Regions from separate parts of the Homo sapiens genome. Here regions 2, 3, 4, 5, 6 and 7 are each linked to region 1. The links are contacts of gene promoters, found by promoter capture Hi-C in blood cells and fetal thymus (Javierre and others, 2016). All regions are on one chromosome and are shown on one strand. Each heading gives the region's core, a stretch centred on a gene start or on the middle of the fragment in contact. The rest is flanking DNA. Distances are from core to core; before and after follow the strand shown. Region 1 holds the start of BPIFB4 (BPI fold containing family B member 4). Region 2 has its middle 6.3 kb from the start of EFCAB8. Region 3 overlaps BPIFB1 (BPI fold containing family B member 1). Region 4 holds the start of BPIFB1 (BPI fold containing family B member 1). Region 5 overlaps EFCAB8 (EF-hand calcium binding domain 8). Region 6 overlaps EFCAB8 (EF-hand calcium binding domain 8). Region 7 overlaps EFCAB8 (EF-hand calcium binding domain 8).

Evidence for each region. The method cuts DNA at HindIII sites, captures the fragments that hold promoters and counts their contacts. A CHiCAGO score of 5 or more calls a contact.
Region 2: a fragment that was not itself captured here is called in contact with the fragment with the promoter of BPIFB4 in region 1 in 1 of 17 cell types (megakaryocytes); the score reaches 5.6 in megakaryocytes.
Region 3: a contact is called between a fragment that was not itself captured here and the fragment with the promoter of BPIFB4 in region 1, in 6 of 17 cell types (M0 macrophages, endothelial precursors, M1 macrophages and 3 more). The highest score is 7.0, in M0 macrophages.
Region 4: a contact is called between a fragment that was not itself captured here and the fragment with the promoter of BPIFB4 in region 1, in 1 of 17 cell types (M0 macrophages). The highest score is 5.0, in M0 macrophages.
Region 5: a contact is called between a fragment that was not itself captured here and the fragment with the promoter of BPIFB4 in region 1, in 2 of 17 cell types (megakaryocytes and activated CD4 T cells). The highest score is 5.7, in megakaryocytes.
Region 6: a contact is called between a fragment that was not itself captured here and the fragment with the promoter of BPIFB4 in region 1, in 4 of 17 cell types (non-activated CD4 T cells, activated CD4 T cells, megakaryocytes and 1 more). The highest score is 5.7, in non-activated CD4 T cells.
Region 7: a contact is called between a fragment that was not itself captured here and the fragment with the promoter of BPIFB4 in region 1, in 2 of 17 cell types (megakaryocytes and endothelial precursors). The highest score is 8.7, in megakaryocytes.

The regions. Positions count from the first base shown.
Region 1 is chr20:33,078,275-33,080,959 of GRCh38, forward strand. It overlaps BPIFB4 (BPI fold containing family B member 4), which reads left to right and starts at 1,369. Exons shown (of 18, transcript NM_182519.3): 1 at 1,369-1,429; 2 at 2,195-2,302. The HindIII fragment of the contact is 19,838 bases long and covers 1,108-2,685 here.
Region 2 is chr20:32,851,257-32,853,941 of GRCh38, forward strand. No RefSeq gene overlaps it. Among named protein-coding and RNA genes, the nearest start is that of EFCAB8, 6.3 kb to the right of the region's middle. The HindIII fragment of the contact is 400 bases long and covers 1,132-1,531 here.
Region 3 is chr20:33,298,927-33,301,611 of GRCh38, forward strand. It overlaps BPIFB1 (BPI fold containing family B member 1), which reads left to right. Exons shown (of 16, transcript NM_033197.3): 8 at 973-1,058; 9 at 2,307-2,486. LOC105372594 (a long non-coding RNA gene) reads left to right here. Exons shown (of 2, transcript XR_936685.3): 2 at 145-927. Among named protein-coding and RNA genes, the nearest start is that of BPIFB1, 17 kb to the left of the region's middle. The HindIII fragment of the contact is 1,697 bases long and covers 488-2,184 here.
Region 4 is chr20:33,280,867-33,283,551 of GRCh38, forward strand. BPIFB1 (BPI fold containing family B member 1) reads left to right here and starts at 2,348. Exons shown (of 16, transcript NM_033197.3): 1 at 2,348-2,388. RefSeq lists enhancers at 420-920, 921-1,421. The HindIII fragment of the contact is 5,854 bases long and covers 1-2,685 here.
Region 5 is chr20:32,881,644-32,884,328 of GRCh38, forward strand. The region is part of intron 5 of EFCAB8 (EF-hand calcium binding domain 8); the gene reads left to right. Among named protein-coding and RNA genes, the nearest start is that of EFCAB8, 24 kb to the left of the region's middle. The HindIII fragment of the contact is 4,347 bases long and covers 1-2,685 here.
Region 6 is chr20:32,927,678-32,930,362 of GRCh38, forward strand. The region is part of intron 20 of EFCAB8 (EF-hand calcium binding domain 8); the gene reads left to right. Among named protein-coding and RNA genes, the nearest start is that of EFCAB8, 70 kb to the left of the region's middle. The HindIII fragment of the contact is 507 bases long and covers 1,125-1,631 here.
Region 7 is chr20:32,944,939-32,947,623 of GRCh38, forward strand. All of the region lies in intron 23 of EFCAB8 (EF-hand calcium binding domain 8), which reads left to right. Among named protein-coding and RNA genes, the nearest start is that of SUN5, 58 kb to the right of the region's middle. The HindIII fragment of the contact is 687 bases long and covers 999-1,685 here.

The DNA.
Region 1 (2,685 bases), core at 119-2,618:
AGAAACAACACTTCACTATGGGCCCCAGGGATCTCTGGATGGGCCAGAGGAACTGTAGGGGCTGGGGGAAGCTTCCTGCAGCTGCTTACCTTTCACCCTTAGAATCTGGAGAGGGCTTTGTAGACAGCAGGGACTGCACATGCAAAGGCCCAGAGGCAGGGAGCACAGGGGGTGATGAGGAGGGGATGGAAGGAATGAGTAGCTCTGTGTGAAGAGAGGACTGGGATGTGTGTACGGAAGGCCTTGGATGCCAAGTGAAGTGGTCTGGGCTGTGTCCCAGCAGGTTTTGGAGGGTGCAACTGGGAAAAGGCAGACGGAACATTCTGGGGTGGTGGAAATGTTCTATATTGTGATAGGAGTGTGGGCTGCATGACCGTAAAAAATGGTCAAAACTCAGCAAATGAACATTTAAGATTTGTGCATGTCACTGTATTTAAAGATATAAAGAAAAGAATCTGAATGCCATGCAGGGTGAAGTGTTTAGTGGTAGTATACTGATGTCTGCAACTTTCAAATGCATAAAAAATAAAAGATGGACTAACAGATGGATGCAAATATGACAAGAATGTAAATGGTGGGTATAGTTGGTGGGAACAACGTGACAACCATGTGTGTCCGCTGTACATTTCCTTCACCTTTGCTATAGGTATGAAAATTTCATGAGGAAATAGTTGGGAAAAACCTTGTTGTATCTCATACATAGTAAACACTCAATAAACAGCAGCTATTGTTATTACTTTGGGACTATTATTTCAGACCCCTAAGAAATGAGTGAGGAATATTTTTCAGATAAAAAAAATGCACATTCGTGCACCAGTCCCAAGTTTGAGGAGCTGGATTCATATTCGTCTCCTTTAGTCCTAAAATCAGCCCTGTGAGGCAGGTATTATACTCATTTGCCAGATGGAAAGAATGTGAGGCTCAGAGGAGGGAAGTGGCTGGCCCAAGGTCATACGGTGAGTTGGGGGTTGAGCAGGGTTTGAACCTGGGTCATCCTGATGCTGAGTCCAGCCTGGGCACCTCCTGTCTACCCAGATCATCTGGAATGGCTAGTGCCTGCCTTAGAGTTAGAAACTAGATGCATCTGGGGGTGATTCCAGTTCCCCAAGCTTGAGGCCTAGCTGGGGTCTCTGGGAATGTGCCCAGCCCAAGGGCTGATAAAACCCAGCTCATGTGACACCATCTGGGGCTGAGTGCAAGTCTTGGAATTAGCCACAAACCGCAAACCTTTATGGTTTTGGGGCTCAATGCCCAATTTGCAGAGCAAATCTGAATTCCGGTCTCTTGTAATTACACAGTGTTTCCCTCTCTGGGGTCTGGGCTCAGCCTCAGGCTGCTATATAAGACTGATCTGTGACCAGACTCAGCCAAAAGCAGAGGGGCTGGGGAACAGGACTTCTCAAGACTCAGCGGCAGGGACCTCCTAGGGGTAAGGAGGCGCACCTTGTCTACTCAGTGTCCGGCAGGGGAGGCACAGGCCTGGGAAGGTAATAAGGAGAGAGAGTCCCAGCCTGGAGATCCATCAGGATGGCCCCTCTCCAAGTTCAGGGGTCTTGTCTGTAGCATGGGCCTAGTCAGGAGAGCCTCTTGGGAATCAGCAAAAAGGCCTGGGTTATGCCAATTACATGCATGCGCAGAGCTGCACTCATCTTTCCCAGGGACGTTGGGTACCGAGGGCCTTTGCTACCTCCTGGAGACTCCTCAGCTGTTTGCTGATGCCAGAAATCTTCCATCGGTGCCCATCTTTTTAACTGAAAGGGGTGATTCCTTTTTGAACACAGCTCTCTGGAAAGTGAGGTTAGGATGAGGTGAGGAAGCCAGAAAAAAATTATTGCATATAGTAGTCCTTTATATTCTAGTGTAAATGAATGCCTCTAATATTCTTCTGGGAGCAGATAGGAGTAGGGAAAGAATTTGGGGGCGCTGTGAAGTCCAAGAGAAATGGGGACAGAAAAAAGAGGAGAGTGTGCCTAAACAAAGGTGGCTGAAACCAACAATTTCTTGGCTCAGATGAGAGGCCATGCCCTGTGCTGACTCTCTGAGGTTGGTGGATGTGTAGCCGGGGCTGATGGAGTGAGAGAAGTGGATGAGGGCACAAAAGGAGCAAAAGAAAGTTTCCCAGAGGCTATGCAGCTCGTTCCAAAATGCATGTTTCACCTCCCCAATCTCATAACATTCCTCACCCACTTCTTAGGGGTCTGAAATAACAGTCCCAAAGTAATAACAATAGCTGCTCTTTATTGAGTGTCTACTATGTATGAGATACAACTTGTTTGTGATTTGGGAGCAGAAGTTCAAAAAGGTAAAGTCCCTTTCCTAAGCATTAAGACCCAGATATCTCTGACCTAGAGCCATTAATATTAACCACGTGGTGTAGAACTGACTCCTCCAAAGAGATGGGAAGAGTGTTTGCTGGTGAGCTGGATGTGTGGAAGGGTGGCTAGATGAATGCATTGATGAGTAGATAAACTGATGGAAAGATGAATGGATGGATGGATGGATAGCTGGGTGGATGGATGGTTGGTTGGATAGATGGATGGGCAGGAGGATATATGGCTTGCCAGCTGTTTGGATGACAGATGGATGATAGATATATGGGAAGATGGATGGATGGTGGGATGGGTGGACAGATTAATAAATAGAGGGAGGAGAATGAGTTGATGAGTGGATGGATGGTTGGTTGGA
Region 2 (2,685 bases), core at 82-2,581, 230 kb before region 1:
TTGTATTTTTTGTAGAGATGGGGTCCCCTTATGTTGCCCAGGCTTGTCTTGAACTCCTGGGCTCAAGTGATCCTCCCACCTTGACCTCCTAAAGTGCTGGGATTACAGGTGTGAGCCACTGCACCCAGCCCTGAAAGTATGTTTCAAAGTCAGTTAACATGATCTTAATCTATAAAATAATCTAAAATTGTCACCATTTTTTTCTCCCTTATAAAATTATATGCTATTAGAAATGAGTTCAAAAGGAGACTTGCTGCCATTTTCTGTCAGAAATAAAGTTAAATGGGCAGAGATAGTGTGTTGTAGGATATGTAGAGTCATGGTTATGGATGCTCTATAAACCCAACCTGATGATCTTGACAAGGGTTGCACCCATAGTTAATGGTATGATACCTCCCTTAAAGTGTTAAATACCTTCAGAAGGAATTTGACACCATATGTATTGGTCATCTACAAGAAGATACCTTCCAGGAGTGCAAGGAGTTTGTGAAGATACTGTTGGCTACTGTCAATTGAGAAGTTACCTTGGTAAAGAGAGAAGCCAAAACTGTGGGTATCTGACCAAGTGCATTGACCTGGCTCTTGAATTTGAAGCACATACAGTCTTTGCTGCTTGGTTTGCTTGGCAGGTTCTGTGTTTCATGAAGGATAGGTAAACAAATGGGTTCTCTGGCTCAATTTGGATCATTGTTCATGCTGATGATTCTCAAACTGATGGGCTTCAGAATCACATGGGGAACTTGTTTGACATAATGTATTTATAAAAATTCATCACCAGAGATTCTGAGTTTGGAGGTTGAAAACCTGCATTTTAATTTGGGCCTTATCTACATGTCTGCAATTTTAAATAATAATTCTGGCAAGGGGAACATCAGACTTGAGTCCTCTTGCAGGTCTCTCCTGCTTTGTGAGTTTTGAGCTATTTGACCTCTCTTGTTCTTACATGCAAGACAGAGATGATGATTTTGGCTGACGTGCCTCCCTCACTGGGTACTTGTTGGGATTAGAAGGAGCTGATGGACCAAAAAAAAACAGCACCACAAAGCTAAAAAGCTCTGTACAGACAAGAGGCATTATTTATGGCACAAGTTCTTCAGATCTGGTCTGAAATTCTGTTTATAGATTAGAAAAAGCTTAGGACAGGGCTTTTGTATCCTCAGAATTCGGAAGGGCATTCCTTCAGACAGGCTTTGGGTGTTTTGTAAAATACACCCAAAGTATTTCCTTTTCAGCATGGTATATGGACAAGTAGAACTCCCTTATGTCTTCAGGCTCTTATGTTTATCCTGTTTTTGTTTTCTTTTAAATGAAGATTCAATGTCTCAGATTCATTGATTAAAAACCCATATTTTCTTCAAGATTTACTCTCTAGAATGTGAAGGGTTTTGAAAAGGAAGCATTTTTCTTTTGCCCTAGCCAAGGTGATCCTCTGTAGTTTTTCTTTTAAGGATTGTTTTAGAAGATTGAGTATAAAGGACTCCTTTTGTGATGTTGACCATAGTTCATTGCAAAGTCCACAAATAAAAATCCAAGCTTTAGGCCTGATCAGCCTAGTCAGATTAGCTTGCTAGCATGTGGGTGACCCAAATCTGATTGTTGACAACAGAGAACATTGCTTTGAAACAAGCTGAACCTCAGTCTGTGATCAGTGTTGTGAACCACCCGTCATTTTTCTGGTCTGGCACTGTTGTAATATGTCTTTTTTTTTTTTTTTTTTTTTTCCCCAGACAGTCTTGCTCTGTCACCCAGGCTGGAGTGCAGTGGCACGATCTTGGCTCACTGCAACCTCCACCTCCCAGGCTGAAGCAGTTCCCGTACCTCAGCCTCCTGAGTAGCTGGGATTACAGGCCTGTGCCACTATGCCTGGCTAATTTTTGTATTTTCAGTAGAGATGGAGTTTTGCCATGTTGCCCAAGGTAGTCTCGAACTCCTGGCCTCAAGTGATCCACCTGTCTTGGCCTCCCAAAGTGCTGGGATTACAGGTGTGAGCCACCACTCCCTGCTTGATATCATACTTTTGGATTCACACATTTAGTTTGTAAAATGTCAAAACCAGATGAGTTCATATTTATTTCTGTATCTTCATGACGCTTGCTGCTTTTTTTCTCTTCATTTTCACATGCGAGGGTATAACTGAGTGTTCAGGGTTTTCTCTGAAAGCCTGAAGGGATTGTGTACTTTTACATTGAACTTGACTGCAGTTAGAACCATTAACCTAGATGACTTCAGCCAAATTATGTATTGTTTTTGTTTTTGTTTTTTTGAGACAGGGTCTCCTGTCACCCAGGCTGGAGTGCAGTGGCACAGTCATGGCTCATGACAGCCTCAACTTCCTGGGCTTCAGCTGTCCTCCCACCTCAACCTCCATAGTAGCTGGGACTGTAGTGCACACCACCATGCCTGGCTGGCTAATTTTTTTTTTTTTTTTTTTTTTGAGACAGAGTTTCATTCTTGTTGCCCAGGTTGGAGTACAGTGGTGCCATCTTGGCTCACTGCAACCTCCGCCTCCTGGGTTCAAGCGAGTCTCCTGCCTCAACCTCGAGAGTAGCTGGGATTACAGGCGCCCACCACCACACCCAGCTAATTTTTGTGTTTTTAGTAGAGACGGGGTTTTGCCATGTTAGCCAGGCTGGTCTGGAACTCCTGACCTCAGGTGATCCACCTGCCTCGGCCTCCCAAAGTGCT
Region 3 (2,685 bases), core at 86-2,585, 220 kb after region 1:
TTTTGTTGTTGTTATAGCCATTTTCGGGGACCTTATTGACTTTAATATACTTTTTTTTTTTTTTTGGAGACGGACCTTTTTTCTTTTTTTAAAGTAATTTTTACAGGAGTCATGCTCATCGTCTCTATGTCCTTCCGATTTTAGTACATGTGCTGCCCTGGCGGGCACTATACCCTCATTTTAAGACGAGGAAACAGATTCAGACGCGAGAAGAGACCAGCCAAGGTCACTGGGGCTCAAACCGAAGTCCAGCTGGCTCCTCCGCTGCCCCGAGGACGGGCCCGGAGGTCTCCCTGGAGCGGTAGGCGGCCGGTCCCTGGCCCTCCAGCACTCCCCATCCTCGGCCATACACCGGGGCAGGTGACACACCACCGCCACCTGGCGGCCAAGTGGGGAATTCTGACGCGAACACGAGATCTTTGGGGGGAGCAGAGGAGCCAGTTTGGATTTCAGAGTAGATGTTACCAGGCCTCTGGCTTCCAGCCTAAGCTTCCTTGAGATCCAGGTGCTCATAGGGTGTCCAGACCCAGAACCACCTGCATGGGGGACGCGGCTTTCAGTCTGGTAGGGGCGGTGGAGTGTTACATACAATAGTTCAGTTCCGTTCCAAACCGGGACTTTGGCATAAAACCGACTGGGTTCCCATGCTCTCATAGTATGGCTTTGAACAGGTCATTTCCCTTTCCTCAGACTTGGTTTCACCATCTGTAAAAGGGGGTAATAATAAGACCTACTTCCTAACGTTATCATGCAGATGAACCAGCTGACATGCAGAGGCCTGGCACTTAGTGGATGCTCGATAAATGTCACTGTCATCACTGTTTGCATCATTATTATCAACATCATTATTACCTGCTCCTCCCTACCTGCCCCCCCATGCAACAGTACAGCTCCACCTGGAAGCAGCCCCCCAACTTCCCCCTCCAATACTGCCCTCCACCCTCACAGAACTTTCTTCTTGTCCTTGAGCAGTGCCCATTTCCCTCAGCATTGACCGTCTGGAGTTTGACCTTCTGTATCCTGCCATCAAGGGTGACACCATTCAGCTCTACCTGGGGGTGAGTGTCCCAGGACCTTGAGGGTGAAGTGGGGACATTGCTGCCCTTCTCTGACCACCAGGAGTCAGATAGCATGGGCCTGTGTTAGGAGAGAAAATCCTGGTCACCATTAGGACACGGGCTGATCTAGAAAAATCACTGCAGGCTGAATATGTCCCATGCAAGTTTGTTTTGTTTTGTTTTTTTGAGACTGAGTCTCACTGTCACCCAGAGTGACATGGGGGGGCCCGAGTGGGGACACTGGGCCCTCAGCCTTTCTCTCAGGCAAGTCCCTGCCAATCCCCAAACCTATGACAACCTTGAAACAAAAGCCAAGGATCAAGAAACACAGACCTAAGTTTCTCTCCTAGCTCTATGATTCCCTGGCTATGTGACTTTGGGCAAGTTCCTTTACCTCCCTGAGCCTCAGTTTCCTTGTCTGCAAAATGTCAGTAATAATGGCCACTGAGGAGAGGATGAAATGAGACCACACCATGCCTGGCAGACCAGAAGTGCCCAGTAACTGTCAGCTCCCTGTCCAATGTGGAGCTGCACAGCCATGCTGTGGCTGGACGCCCCAAAGGGCCAGACCATCCTGGTAGCATGAATCCCAGACTAGGTTTCTTTTGTTTTGTTTTTTTGAGACTGAGTCTCACTCTGTCACCCAGGCTGGAGTGCAGTGGTGCCATCACAGCTCACTGCAGCCTTGACCTCCTGGGCTCAAGCGATCCTCTCACCTCAACCTCCTGAGTAGCTGGGACTGCAGGCACTCGCCACCACGCCTGGCTAATTTTCTGTATTTTTTGTAAAGATGGGGTTCCGCCATGTTGCCCAGGCTGGTCTCAAACTCCTGGGCTCAAATGATCCTCCCACTTCGGCCTCCCAAAGTGCTAAGATTACAAGCATGAGCCAACACGCCTGGCCCCTGGACTAGTTTCTATGGATCCTTTGGAAAACTGCAGCATCAAATCGTTTCTTCCATTTTGTTGTAGTTTTTAATTTTCCCTCCATCCAAAGGGTTTGAGGTGTCTGAGAAGTTGAAGCATGGGAAAAAAAACGAAGATATCTGGTACAAAAAATAAAAGTCAGAGATTATCCGAGGGGCAAAGATGGAGTAGATGTTGCCACACACCTGAGCTCCAGGCTAAGCTTCCTGGCAACAAATGCACAAAAAGGAAACAGGCTGAATGGTGTCATTTCCTTCTAGGTTGCTATTGGGTAAGCTGCAGAGTTAAAATTCTTAGCTGACTCCCTGCTCTGTCTCCTCAGGCCAAGTTGTTGGACTCACAGGGAAAGGTGACCAAGTGGTTCAATAACTCTGCAGCTTCCCTGACAATGCCCACCCTGGACAACATCCCGTTCAGCCTCATCGTGAGTCAGGACGTGGTGAAAGCTGCAGTGGCTGCTGTGCTCTCTCCAGAAGAATTCATGGTCCTGTTGGACTCTGTGGTAAACCTCAGCACAAGGCAGAGAATAGGGCCGCCCAGGCCACATCATAGGAATTTCCTGAACACAGGGTGCCCCTAAGCAGGAATCCTCCATCAGGCTCAGTTTAATGGAGATCTCACTCCCTCCTCTAATAGACCCTGCCTCTGACATAGCTCTAAACCTAAAATCCTCCCGGTAACATCCAGCCCCAGTCATGGTT
Region 4 (2,685 bases), core at 60-2,559, 200 kb after region 1:
AAGGAGAGCGCTCCTGGGATAAGGCCAGCATGTGCGCAGGCCCTGGGGTGGGAGTGAGAGGAGCGAGGGATGAAGTAGAGAGAGGTGAGGGCTGAAAGGTGGCCAGCAGCCAAACATGCTGGGAAGAGGACATCCAGGCCAGGTGGAGCAGCAGTCAGGCAGCTTTATGCAGATGTTGCGTTCTTTTTTGTGTGTGTGAGACAGAGTCTTGCTCTGTAGCCCGGGCGGGAGTGCAGTGGTGCGATCTTGGCTCACTGCAACCTCTGCCTCCTGGGTTCAAGTGGTTCCCCTGCCTCAGCCTTCTGAGTAACTGGGTCTACAGGCACGTGCCACCTAAAAACCATGCCCGTCTAATTTTTTTTTTTTTTTTTTTTTAGAGACAGGGTTTCACCATGTTGACCAGGCTGATCTCAAACTCCTGACCTCAGGTAATCCACCAGTATTTGCCTCCCAAAATGCTGGTATTACAGGTGTGAATTTACCACTTGCTGAATTCTCTGATGTTTCAAGCATTTCTCATGACCTTACGAGACCCTCAAAATAGTCCCATTTCACAATGGAGGAAACAGTCTCATAGAGAAGAAGCAATTTTCCCAAGGCTGACAGCTGTCAGTATAGGAGCAGGAATCTGAGCCGTGTCTGTCGGCCTCCACAGGCTTCCTCCTGCACTCCTGCGCTTCTTCCCAGACAGGGCACAATTAGGTTTTCAGGAGGGTGAAGGAGGTACTCCAGAAAGAGGACACGGCACAAAAAGGCCTGGGAGCTGAAGAGAGGTGGAGCCAAGGCCAAGAGACGCCAGCAACCTGAGGAGGGGCCACGCGGTACTGAGGGCAGGTGTGGAGTCTGGGGACCATGGGCCTGCAGAGATGCAGCCAGCTTTGCTGTCCCAGCACGTGGCAGGAAGCAGGAGCTGATGCGGCCCCAGGTCTTGGCATTGGGCCCGAGCACCGCACAGAGGGTCATTGTCCATGGGCAGTGGGCATGGCCAGCTGGGAAGCCAAGCAGGGGCATTTGCCTCTCTGGAGATGTGCCCAAGGGATCGGCAGGGTCCTCCCAAGAGCTCTCTCAAAACACCTCACCTTTAGGTATTCAGGGCTTTTGGTGTGTTTGCAAACATGGCAGGACAGCAAACGCTCTTCACCTTGTTCTTCTTGTCAAAAAGCAGGAGGAAGAGACCAGCCAGGGCCTGGCCACGTACTTTGTGACCTCAGAACACTTACTGCCCCTGACTTGTCTGCTGCAGATGGAGACAGGATTCAACAATGGCCATCCCAGCTCTAAACCACAATTCCATTCTTCTAGACAAAAACTGGGTAGCAAGGATAATTCCCCAGATGACATCAAAAGGCCATGTTGGTGTCACCACCACCTCCAGTGCTAAATTGAAGTCTCAGGGGAAGGACAGTGTGGCGGTTAAGAGGGTCCGGTCTGGACTGATGATCGGGTTCAGGTCCCAAAGCTGGAATCCCTGGTCATGTGACCTTGAGCAAGTCACTCGCCTCTCTGAGCCTCAGGTGCCCTCTGTAACATTAACGCTGCTGATGCCCACCTCTGGGTGACTGTGCAGGCTGCGTGAGCCAAGACCTGGGCCCAGGTGGTGGATGACAGCGTCCTGCTGGGCTCTGACATTTGTCCTTTAGGTTCATGGTCATCCCTCCTTATTCTTTTGGTCCACAAGTGCTCATGGAGATTCCTAAAGATGCAGACAAGGTAGAGCAGATTTTAATTGCTGCGGAATGAATGAATGAATGAAATGAAAGCCCATGCTAAGCACTGTGTAGGCATGCACTTCAACTCATGCTCTTAACAACCTATGAGGAGGAGCTACTATTATCCCCATGCTATAGATGAGGTCATTGGGGCCCAGAGAGGTGAAGTACCTTGCCCAAGGGCACACAGCAAAGCAGTGGCAAAAATAGGATTCAAATCTATTCTCCTGGGTGAATTAATTGATGGAGATGTGTATCTTTGATGTATTTAGGAATAAGGGGTGGGTAAGGCTACTCCTTCCTTTTCCCAAATTGATTATCTGGATTAAACAATTGTTGTAATCCCTCTACAAAGGCTCATCCTATTATAAGCAATAATAATATTAATGGCAACGGCCACTCACATTTATGGAGTGCTTATTCTGCTATATGCACTGTGCTTCTCTCAGCCTGGACCTTCCTTTCTCCAAACCTCAGGAAGCTGGAGTCCCAAGGCTGCCTCCGGGCGGGGCTGTGGTTCAGCAGAAGCCACAAATATTTACCTTGGAGACCTCGGCCTGGTCTGAGGCCTCTGCCTAAAGACAAAGCCTGTGCTGGGGTGTGCAGGATATAAGGTTGGACTTCCAGACCCACTGCCCGGGAGAGGAGAGGAGCGGGCCGAGGACTCCAGCGTGCCCAGGTAAAAGTAGGGAAGGGGCTGAAAGCCAAGGTTGCCAGGAAGGTTCTGAGCTAGAGATACCTGTTGGGGTCAGGTCAGGAGCACAGGGGAGGCTCGCCCTCAGGGAAGGGCCCTCGGTGAGTCAGGATCCGCTGAGGGTCAGGGCCAGGTGTAGAGAGATGCCCAGCTCCCTCGCCCAGAGGACCAAAGGGCAGTGACGAAGGGATGGGGCTGGCTGAGTGTTTTCCTGACCTCTTCCTAGTGACATAAACCCACTCTGCACATACCAGTTGCTCTGTCCCAGCTGTGCTGCGGTGG
Region 5 (2,685 bases), core at 97-2,596, 200 kb before region 1:
TGCAAGGGACATCGGGTTCAGCCACTGTGCCTATCTGGATCATTGGTAGCAAAGCTACTGTAGCGAGTGCCTCCCCTCAGTCCATTCTCATTCATAGAGAATAGGGTTACACGAGTTCCAAACTCGCGAGCCATTTTTACCATGAGACAATATAGCTGTATTTATTTTTAACCCCCATTTTGCCAGATGGGATGAAGGCGCAATCCACCCCCATCAGGCCCTTAGGGAATTCTGACAACGTTTTAAAACATGGTGACTGTTTCTTGCTTAGAAATTATCCCTGCCCAGGCATGGTGGCTCACACCTGTAATCCCAGCACTTTGGGAGGCCAAGGTGGGTGGCTTACCTGAGGTCAGGAGTCCTGGCCAACATGGTGAAACCCTGTCTCTACTAAAAATACAAAAATTAGCTGGATGTGGTGGCAGGCACCTGTAATCCCAGCTACTCGGGAGGCTGAGACAGGAGAATTGCTTGAACCCAGGAGGCAGAGGTTGCAGTGAGCCGAGATTGCGCCATTGCTGTCCAGCCTGGGCAACAAGAATGAAAACTCCGTCTCAAAAAGAAAAAAAAAAACAGCATGCAAATGCAATTCAGCCCACTGAGGCTGATCAGTTTCTACCTTCTTTGCTGCAAGTGGCAGCCCTCCAAACAGAATATCGTCCATTCACTTTGAAACTGTAAACCCAGCATTTCCTCGTTGGTCACTTGATAGCTGTTCACGGCACACTGTCCAAGTGTCGACAGAACCCAGCAGCACCTCACACAGTTCCGGAATCAGTCCTGGGGTAAAGAGGCTCATAGCCTGTGAGTATCTCTTGCTTGCATTCCCCAGGTAGCAAGATGCTGAGTAAACCATTTCCATTTTATTGTATTTATTTTTTGGGATTTTATTTTTGAGACAAGGTCTTGCTCTGTGGCCCAGGCTAGAATGCAGTGGCATCATCTCAGGTCACTGCAACCTCCACTTCCTGGGTTCAAGTGATTCTTTTGCCTCAGCCTCCCGAGTAACTGGGATTACAGGTGGCCGCCACCACGCCTGGCCGATTTTTTGTTGTTGTTGTTGTTGTTTTGAGACAGAGCCTTGCTCGGTCGCCCAGGCTGGAGTGCAGTGGTGCAATCTCGGCTCACTGCAAGCTCTGCCTCCCGGGTTCATGCCGTTCTCCTGCCTCAGCCTCCCGAGTAGCTGGGACTACAGGCGCCCACCACCATGCCCAGCGATTTTTTTGCATTTTTAGTAGAGACGGGGTTTCACCATGTTAGCCAGGATAGTCTCAATCTCCTGACCTCATGATCTGCCCGCCTCGGCCTCCCAAAGTGCTGGGATTACAAGCGTAAGCCACCGCGCCTGGCCTAGTTTTTGTATTTTTAATAGAGACGGGATTTCACCGTATTGGCCAGGCTGATCTTGAACTCCTGATCTCAGGTGATCCACCTGCCTTGGCCTCCCAAAGTGCTGGTATTACAGGTGTGAGTCATTGCGCCTGGCCAACCATTTCCATTTTATTATGGAATTTCTGGCCTCTGTAGGCCCCATTAGAGCATTTCTCTGATATCACCCAAGACATCTGGGTATTTCAGGTTTCAAGATAATTTTATATCCTTCAGTCGTAGGGGTAGCTTCAGTTAATGTCCCATAACAAGGTAGTAAATGCCCCTCAAGAGGACATTCCCTAGTCCAAAGTCCCAGTAGCTGTTGCCGGGAGGCGCTTACAGGCTTTTGTCGTAAGCCCCAGGAAATGCTCCACAGAGGGCTATCCAGTGGAGAATTTGTCCCTGCCAGCTCTCTAGCTTCTACTCTGCACTGTGTGGGCCTGGGCAATCTTACTGGTTCCCATGTAGCATGTCCAGTTCATATAGCTTGAATGGCGATTTACATACCTCTGTTTTATAGCAGTAGGAAGGGGAGACATTCCCTAATTAGATATAGTGTTCATTCCCATGATACAATCAGATAAAAGCAACCATTTGAACATGAAGTATGTTCAAATACATAACTGTACATTTTGGCATGAACACATTGCTTAATAAGGTCAAGCCTTCACTGGTCTATTTCTTTTTTTTTTTGGAGACGGAGTCTCACTCTGTCACCCAGGCTGGAGTGCAGTGGCGCAATCTTGGCTCAGTGCAACCTCTGTCTCCCGGGTTCAAGCGATTCTCCTGCCTCAGCCTCCTGAGTAGCTGGGACTACAGGCGTGTGCTACCACACCTGGCTAATTTTTGTATTTTTAGTAGAGATGGGGTTTCACCACGTTGGCCGGGCTGGTCTTGAACTCCTGACCTCAAGTGGTCTGCCCGCCTCCTGACCTCAAGTAATCCTCCTGACCTCAAGTGATCCACTCACCTCAGCCTTCCAAAGTGCTGGGATTACAGGCGTGAGCCACTCTGCCCGGTCAGGTCTTTCTATTTCTTTGGGCCATTTAGATCTCAAGGGTGTTTAAAGGTCCTGAAACAGAATGTCAAGAGGCTTGTTCCTATATTCTCCTATTTATTTGTTCAACCTACAAACCCGGAGAGCATTTCCAACTTGGTGGGGAAAATAAATGAGTAATATTTAATTACCTTCATGAAAGAGTAACTTAAAACATTGGCTTACCTTTACTGAGCCTGGGCCGGGTGCACCAAATGCAGCCTCTCATCTGATCCCATCACAGCCCTAGGAGGTGCAGGTGCTGTCATCATGCAGGT
Region 6 (2,685 bases), core at 128-2,627, 150 kb before region 1:
TGGGTACTGGGATTTTGTAGGTGATTTTAATTTCCTTTCATATGTCTATGCTGCCCACATTTTGTACAGTGAGCACTTGCATAAAGTGGGGGAAATGCTTGCCCTTTGTCTTTGGTTCAGGGATTCCTGTTTTTTCTTTTTTTCAAAAAATTTTTCTTGTAGTGAAATACACATAACATAAAATTTACCATTGAAACCATTTTTAAGTGTATGGTTCAGTGGTAGTAAATATATTCATAATGTGCAGCCATCACCACTATCCATTCATCTTGTTAAATTGAAACTATACCCATTAAAAAATAACTCCCACTCCCCTCTCCCTCCAAACCCTGGAAACCCCCATTCTACTTTCTGTCTTTATGATTTTGACTATTCTACCTCATGCAAGTGGAATCATATGTTTGTCTTTTGGTAACTGGCTTATGTCACTTAGCATAATGTCCTCTTTGATTAATTCCCAAGTATTTTACTCTTTTTTTGACACTATTGTCAATGGAATTATTTTTGTAATTTCCTTTTCAGATTGTTCAACGTTAGTGTATAGAAATGCAACTGATTTTTTATTTTTTTTTTTTTGAGACAGAGTCTTGCTCTGTCGCCCAGGCTGGAGTACAATGGCACGATCTCGGCTCACTGCACCCTCTGCCTCCCAGGTTCAAGTGATTTTCCTGCCTCAGCCTCATGGGTAGCTGGGATTACAGGTGCATGCCACCACACCTGGCTAATATTTGTATTTTTTAGTAGAGACGGGCTTTCACCATGTTGACCAGGCTGGTCTCGAACTCTTGACCTCATGATCCACCTGCCTCAGCCTCCCAAAGTGCTGGGATTACAGGCATGAGCCACCGCACCCAGCCAATGCGACTGATTTTTATGTGTTGACTTTGTATCCTGCCATTTTGCTGAATTCATTTGTTAGCCCCTTTTTTTTGGTGTGGGAGCTTTAGCGTTTTCTACATATAAGATAATATCATCTGCAAACTTATAATTTTACTTCTTTCTTTCCAGTTTGGATACCTTTTATTTCTTTTTTTGCCTAATCCCTCTGGCAGAACTTCCAGTACTCTGTTGAATAAAAGTGGCAAAAGTGGACATTCTTGCCTTGTTCCTAATTCCAGAGGAAAAGCTTTCAGTCTTTTACTATTGAGTGTGATATTCATTGTGGGTTTTTCATATATGGCTTTTATTATGTTTAGGTAATGTCCTTCTATTCCTATTTTTTTTTTTTAATTTTGTCAAATCGTTTTCTGCATCAATTAAGATGATCGTGTGGGTTTTTTTCTTTTTTTGTGAAGGTGGTATATTTATTGATTTTTATATGTTGAATCATCCTTGCATTCCAGGAATAAAAGTCACTTGGTCATGGTATATAATCCTTTTAATATGCTACTGAATGCAGTTTGCTAATTTTTTTGATAATTTTTAAATATCAGTGTTCATAAGGGATATTTCTCTGTAGTCTTTTTTTTTTTCTTATAATGTCTTTGTCTGACTTTGATATCAGGGTAATGCTGGCCTCATAGAATGAGTTAGGAAGTGTTATCTCCTCTTCAGTATTCTGGAAAAGTTTGGGAAGGATTGGCATTCATTCTTCCTTAAATGTTTGGTAGAATTCACTGGTGAAGCCATCAAGCTTTGGGCACAAGGGACTTCTGGTTTTTGACCCTGGCACCGGGGCCAGTGGGAAGCAGGTTGAACAACTAATTTCGGATTTCTACAACAATAAGGATAATTGAGATTTTTTTCTTTCTTTTCTTTTCTTTCTTTTCTTTTTTCTCCCTTCCCTCCCCTCCCCTCCCCTCCCCTCCGCTTCTCTTCCCTTCTGTTTTTTTTTTTTTTTCTTTAAATAGAGATAGGGTCTCACTATGTTGCACAGGCTGTCTCGATCTCCTGGGCTCAAGTGATTCACCCGCCTCGGCCTCCCAAAGTGCTAGGATTACAGGTATGAGCCACCATGAGATTTTTGATAATCGAGATTTTTGTTGTTGGTGACATGTTTTGGGGACACATAAGCTATTACACTGTAAAGTTCTGAGCAGGAGTGAGGAAGCTTCCAATTTCCCCCTTCTGGCCTGATTTGCTCTACCACCCTCACTATGCTCTCAGCCTCCTGCTGGGTGCCAGGCAAGAAACTTTCTTCTCATGCTTGCCATGCAGAGTAACTTCCCACTGTGGCCCCCACATGGGCCACAGGTGTGACATGTAAGGGAAAAGTGAGCAGAGTGAGGAATTAGCAAAGGGCATGATCAAAACAAGTCTTGAACAAGAATTTGTTTAAAATGCTTTCTTGATGATTGGCTGGAAAATATGGATATTTCACTATAGATATACATGAAGGGGAATGAGTTCCTTCCCCACATCACTTTGGGTTGAGTTACAGGTTGTGAAAATCTTGTCTGAGCCTATGTCGAATCAAACTTGTAAGCCTTCATTTGATAAACATTTATTGATCATGTATTATGTGTCAGGCACCATTGTGGTTACTAAGGACAAAGTAGTGAACAAAAAAGACGCAAAATCCCTGCCCTCTAGTAGTTCATAGTCGAGTATGACGTTCCTTGTCACCAGCTGGGGAGGAAGGGTGGGACCACCATCACCACTTTCACTGGGCATCTAGGAAACTGGGGGACCAGGTGGGTGTGGTGACTTGCTGAGGTCCCTCAGCACCATGTGACAGTGGCTCAC
Region 7 (2,685 bases), core at 92-2,591, 130 kb before region 1:
GTACTACCATAATGCATATATTGTCCATTTGACGATGTCTCATAAATCCCTTAAGTTTTCTTTACTCTTTAAAATTCTTTTTTCTTTTTTGCTTCTCTGACTGGATATCTTCAAGTCTGCTGATTTTTCCTTCTGCTTGATCAAGCCTGCTGTAGATGACTTTTGAATTCAATTATTTTACTCTTCATCTTCAGCTCTAGAATTTCTGTTATTTTTATTATTATTATTATTATTTTTTGAGACAGGGTCTTGCTCTGCCACCCAGGGTTGAGTGCAGTGGCACGAATTCAGCTCACTGAAGCCTTGACCTCCCAGCCTCAAGTGATCTTCCCACAGCCTCCTGAGTAGCTGGGACTACAGGTGCATGCCATCATGCCTGGCTAATTTTTTGTATTTTTTGTAGAGACAGAGTTTCACCATGTTGCCCAGGCTGGCCTTGAATTCTTGAGCTCAAGTGATCGCCCACCTAAGCTTCCCAAAGTGTTGGGATTATAGGTGTGGGCCACCATGGCTGGCCTCTGTTTGGTTCTTTTCTATATTTTCTGTGTCTTCACTAATATTCTCAGTTTGTTCATGTATTGTTTCCCTGAGCTTGTTGAGCATTTTTATTACGGTTACTTAGAATTCTTTGTCAAATAATTAATATACCTCAATTTCTTTAGCGGCAGTTTCTGGAGATTTATTTTGTTCCTTTGGGCCATGCTTTCCTATTTTTTTTGTGTGCCTTATAACTTTATATTGGGATCCATGCATTTGTAAAATCAGCCACCTCTCCCAGTCTTTATATACTGGCTTCATTCAGGGAAAATTCTGCACCAATCAGCTTGGCTAAAGATTCTGGGTGCCTCCCCAATCTTTTTTGTGGATACTTTCACCAGACTTACGCATGTAAATTCGCAATTACAGGAATCTACAGGTTTATTTTTTTCAGGAGTCCATTATCTCTTGCTCTCTCTGGTGTCTATTTGCAGTACTGCAAGTTCTCTAGAGCGGCTACAAGCTTCCCCCAGGCCTCTAGAATATGCTGGGTCCTTCAATAGTCTGAGAGAGGCAAGACAGAAACCAGTTTCTTGGGTACCCCTCAAAGGCTAACATTGGATATGTATGCTCCAAATCTGCCTCCTCAAGGAGAAGCTGGAAGTTGGGTTGTTTTCTCTACTCATTCCACAGAGCGGCAGGAGGGACTCTGATAGTGTGTGCTAGTCTAAATTGTCACCTTTGTTCTTAGTAGCCCAGTCTGGTGCCTCTTCCTGTCAGTGCTTAGATTCAGGCAAGACAGAAACTGGTTAATCATGCAGCCCTCTGAAAAGTCTGCATGTTGGATGTACATCTCAGTCTTTCCCTCCCAGGGAGAAGCTGGAAGCTGGTGGTTCCTTCCCAATCTGCTTCACTGAGCCAGGAGGAGGGATTACAAGTGAGCACTATGAATTTTCCTACTGGCTTCAGTGCAGCTGGTTTTTTGTTTTTTGTTTTTTTGGTTTTTGTTTGTTTGTTTTTTCATTCATCTGGGATGAATGGTCCTGGTTTCTGGTCCATGTACTGTTGTTCAGTCAGTGTCTCCATAGGGAGAAGGAAGTTCTGGATCTTCCTATTCTACCATCTTGCTGATGTCACCCATTTTTTTGTATCTTTCAAAGACGTCTTTGACTATCCCCTAAATATAATATCTAGTGTTATCTTTTAGAAGCTTGTTTTAAAAATCAGATTTCTGAAGTATAATTTACATCCAATAAAAGCACCTTTTAAAAGTATATAGTTCTGTGAGGTTTCATGAATGCATACAATTGTGTAATTGGTATCACAATCAAGACATAGACATTACCCCAAAAAGTGACCTCATGTCTCCTCATAGTAAACTCTATTTCCTTCTCCTAACCCCTGGCAGCCATTGATCTGTTTGTCTCTATAGTTTTGCCTTTTCCAGATTATCATAAATGGAAACATACACATGTAGCTGAGTGAAAGTCTAACTTTCACTTAGCATAATCAATTTGAGATTCATCTTTGTTGTTGAACGTATCAGTAGTTTGTTCTTTTTATTGCTGAGTATTATTCCACTGTATGGCTCTGTCATAGTTTGTTAATCCATTCACCAATTATAGGACATTTGAGTCATTGTCAGTTTTGGATGATTATGAATGAAGCCGCTTTAAACATTGTTTTCATTTCTGTTGGGTAAGTATTTAGAAGCAGAATGGCTGGGTTGTATGGTAAGTGTATTGAAACTTTATGAAAAATGACCAAACTGTTTTGCATTTCTACCTTTGTGTCTTCATCAACATTTGGTGTTTGATCTGTTATTATTTTAAATTTTAATAATCTATGATTGTAGCATGAGATTTCAATATTCTCTCAATTTATAAAACAACTATACAGAAAATCATTAATGATATAGAATACTTGAATAACACTATCAAACAATTTTACTTAATTAACATTTATAGATCATTCATAAACAAACATTATTTTTAAGTGCACACAGAACATTAATTAAACCGACCATATTCTGGTAACAAAACACATCTCACTAATCTCAAAAGGATTTATGCCATACAAAGTATGTTCTCTGATCCCAATGAAACTGAATTATAAATCAAAAACAGAAATATCTTTGAAATATCCCTAAATATTTGGAAGCTAAATGACACATTTCTAAATAACCCATGGGCCAAAAAAAGAAATCCA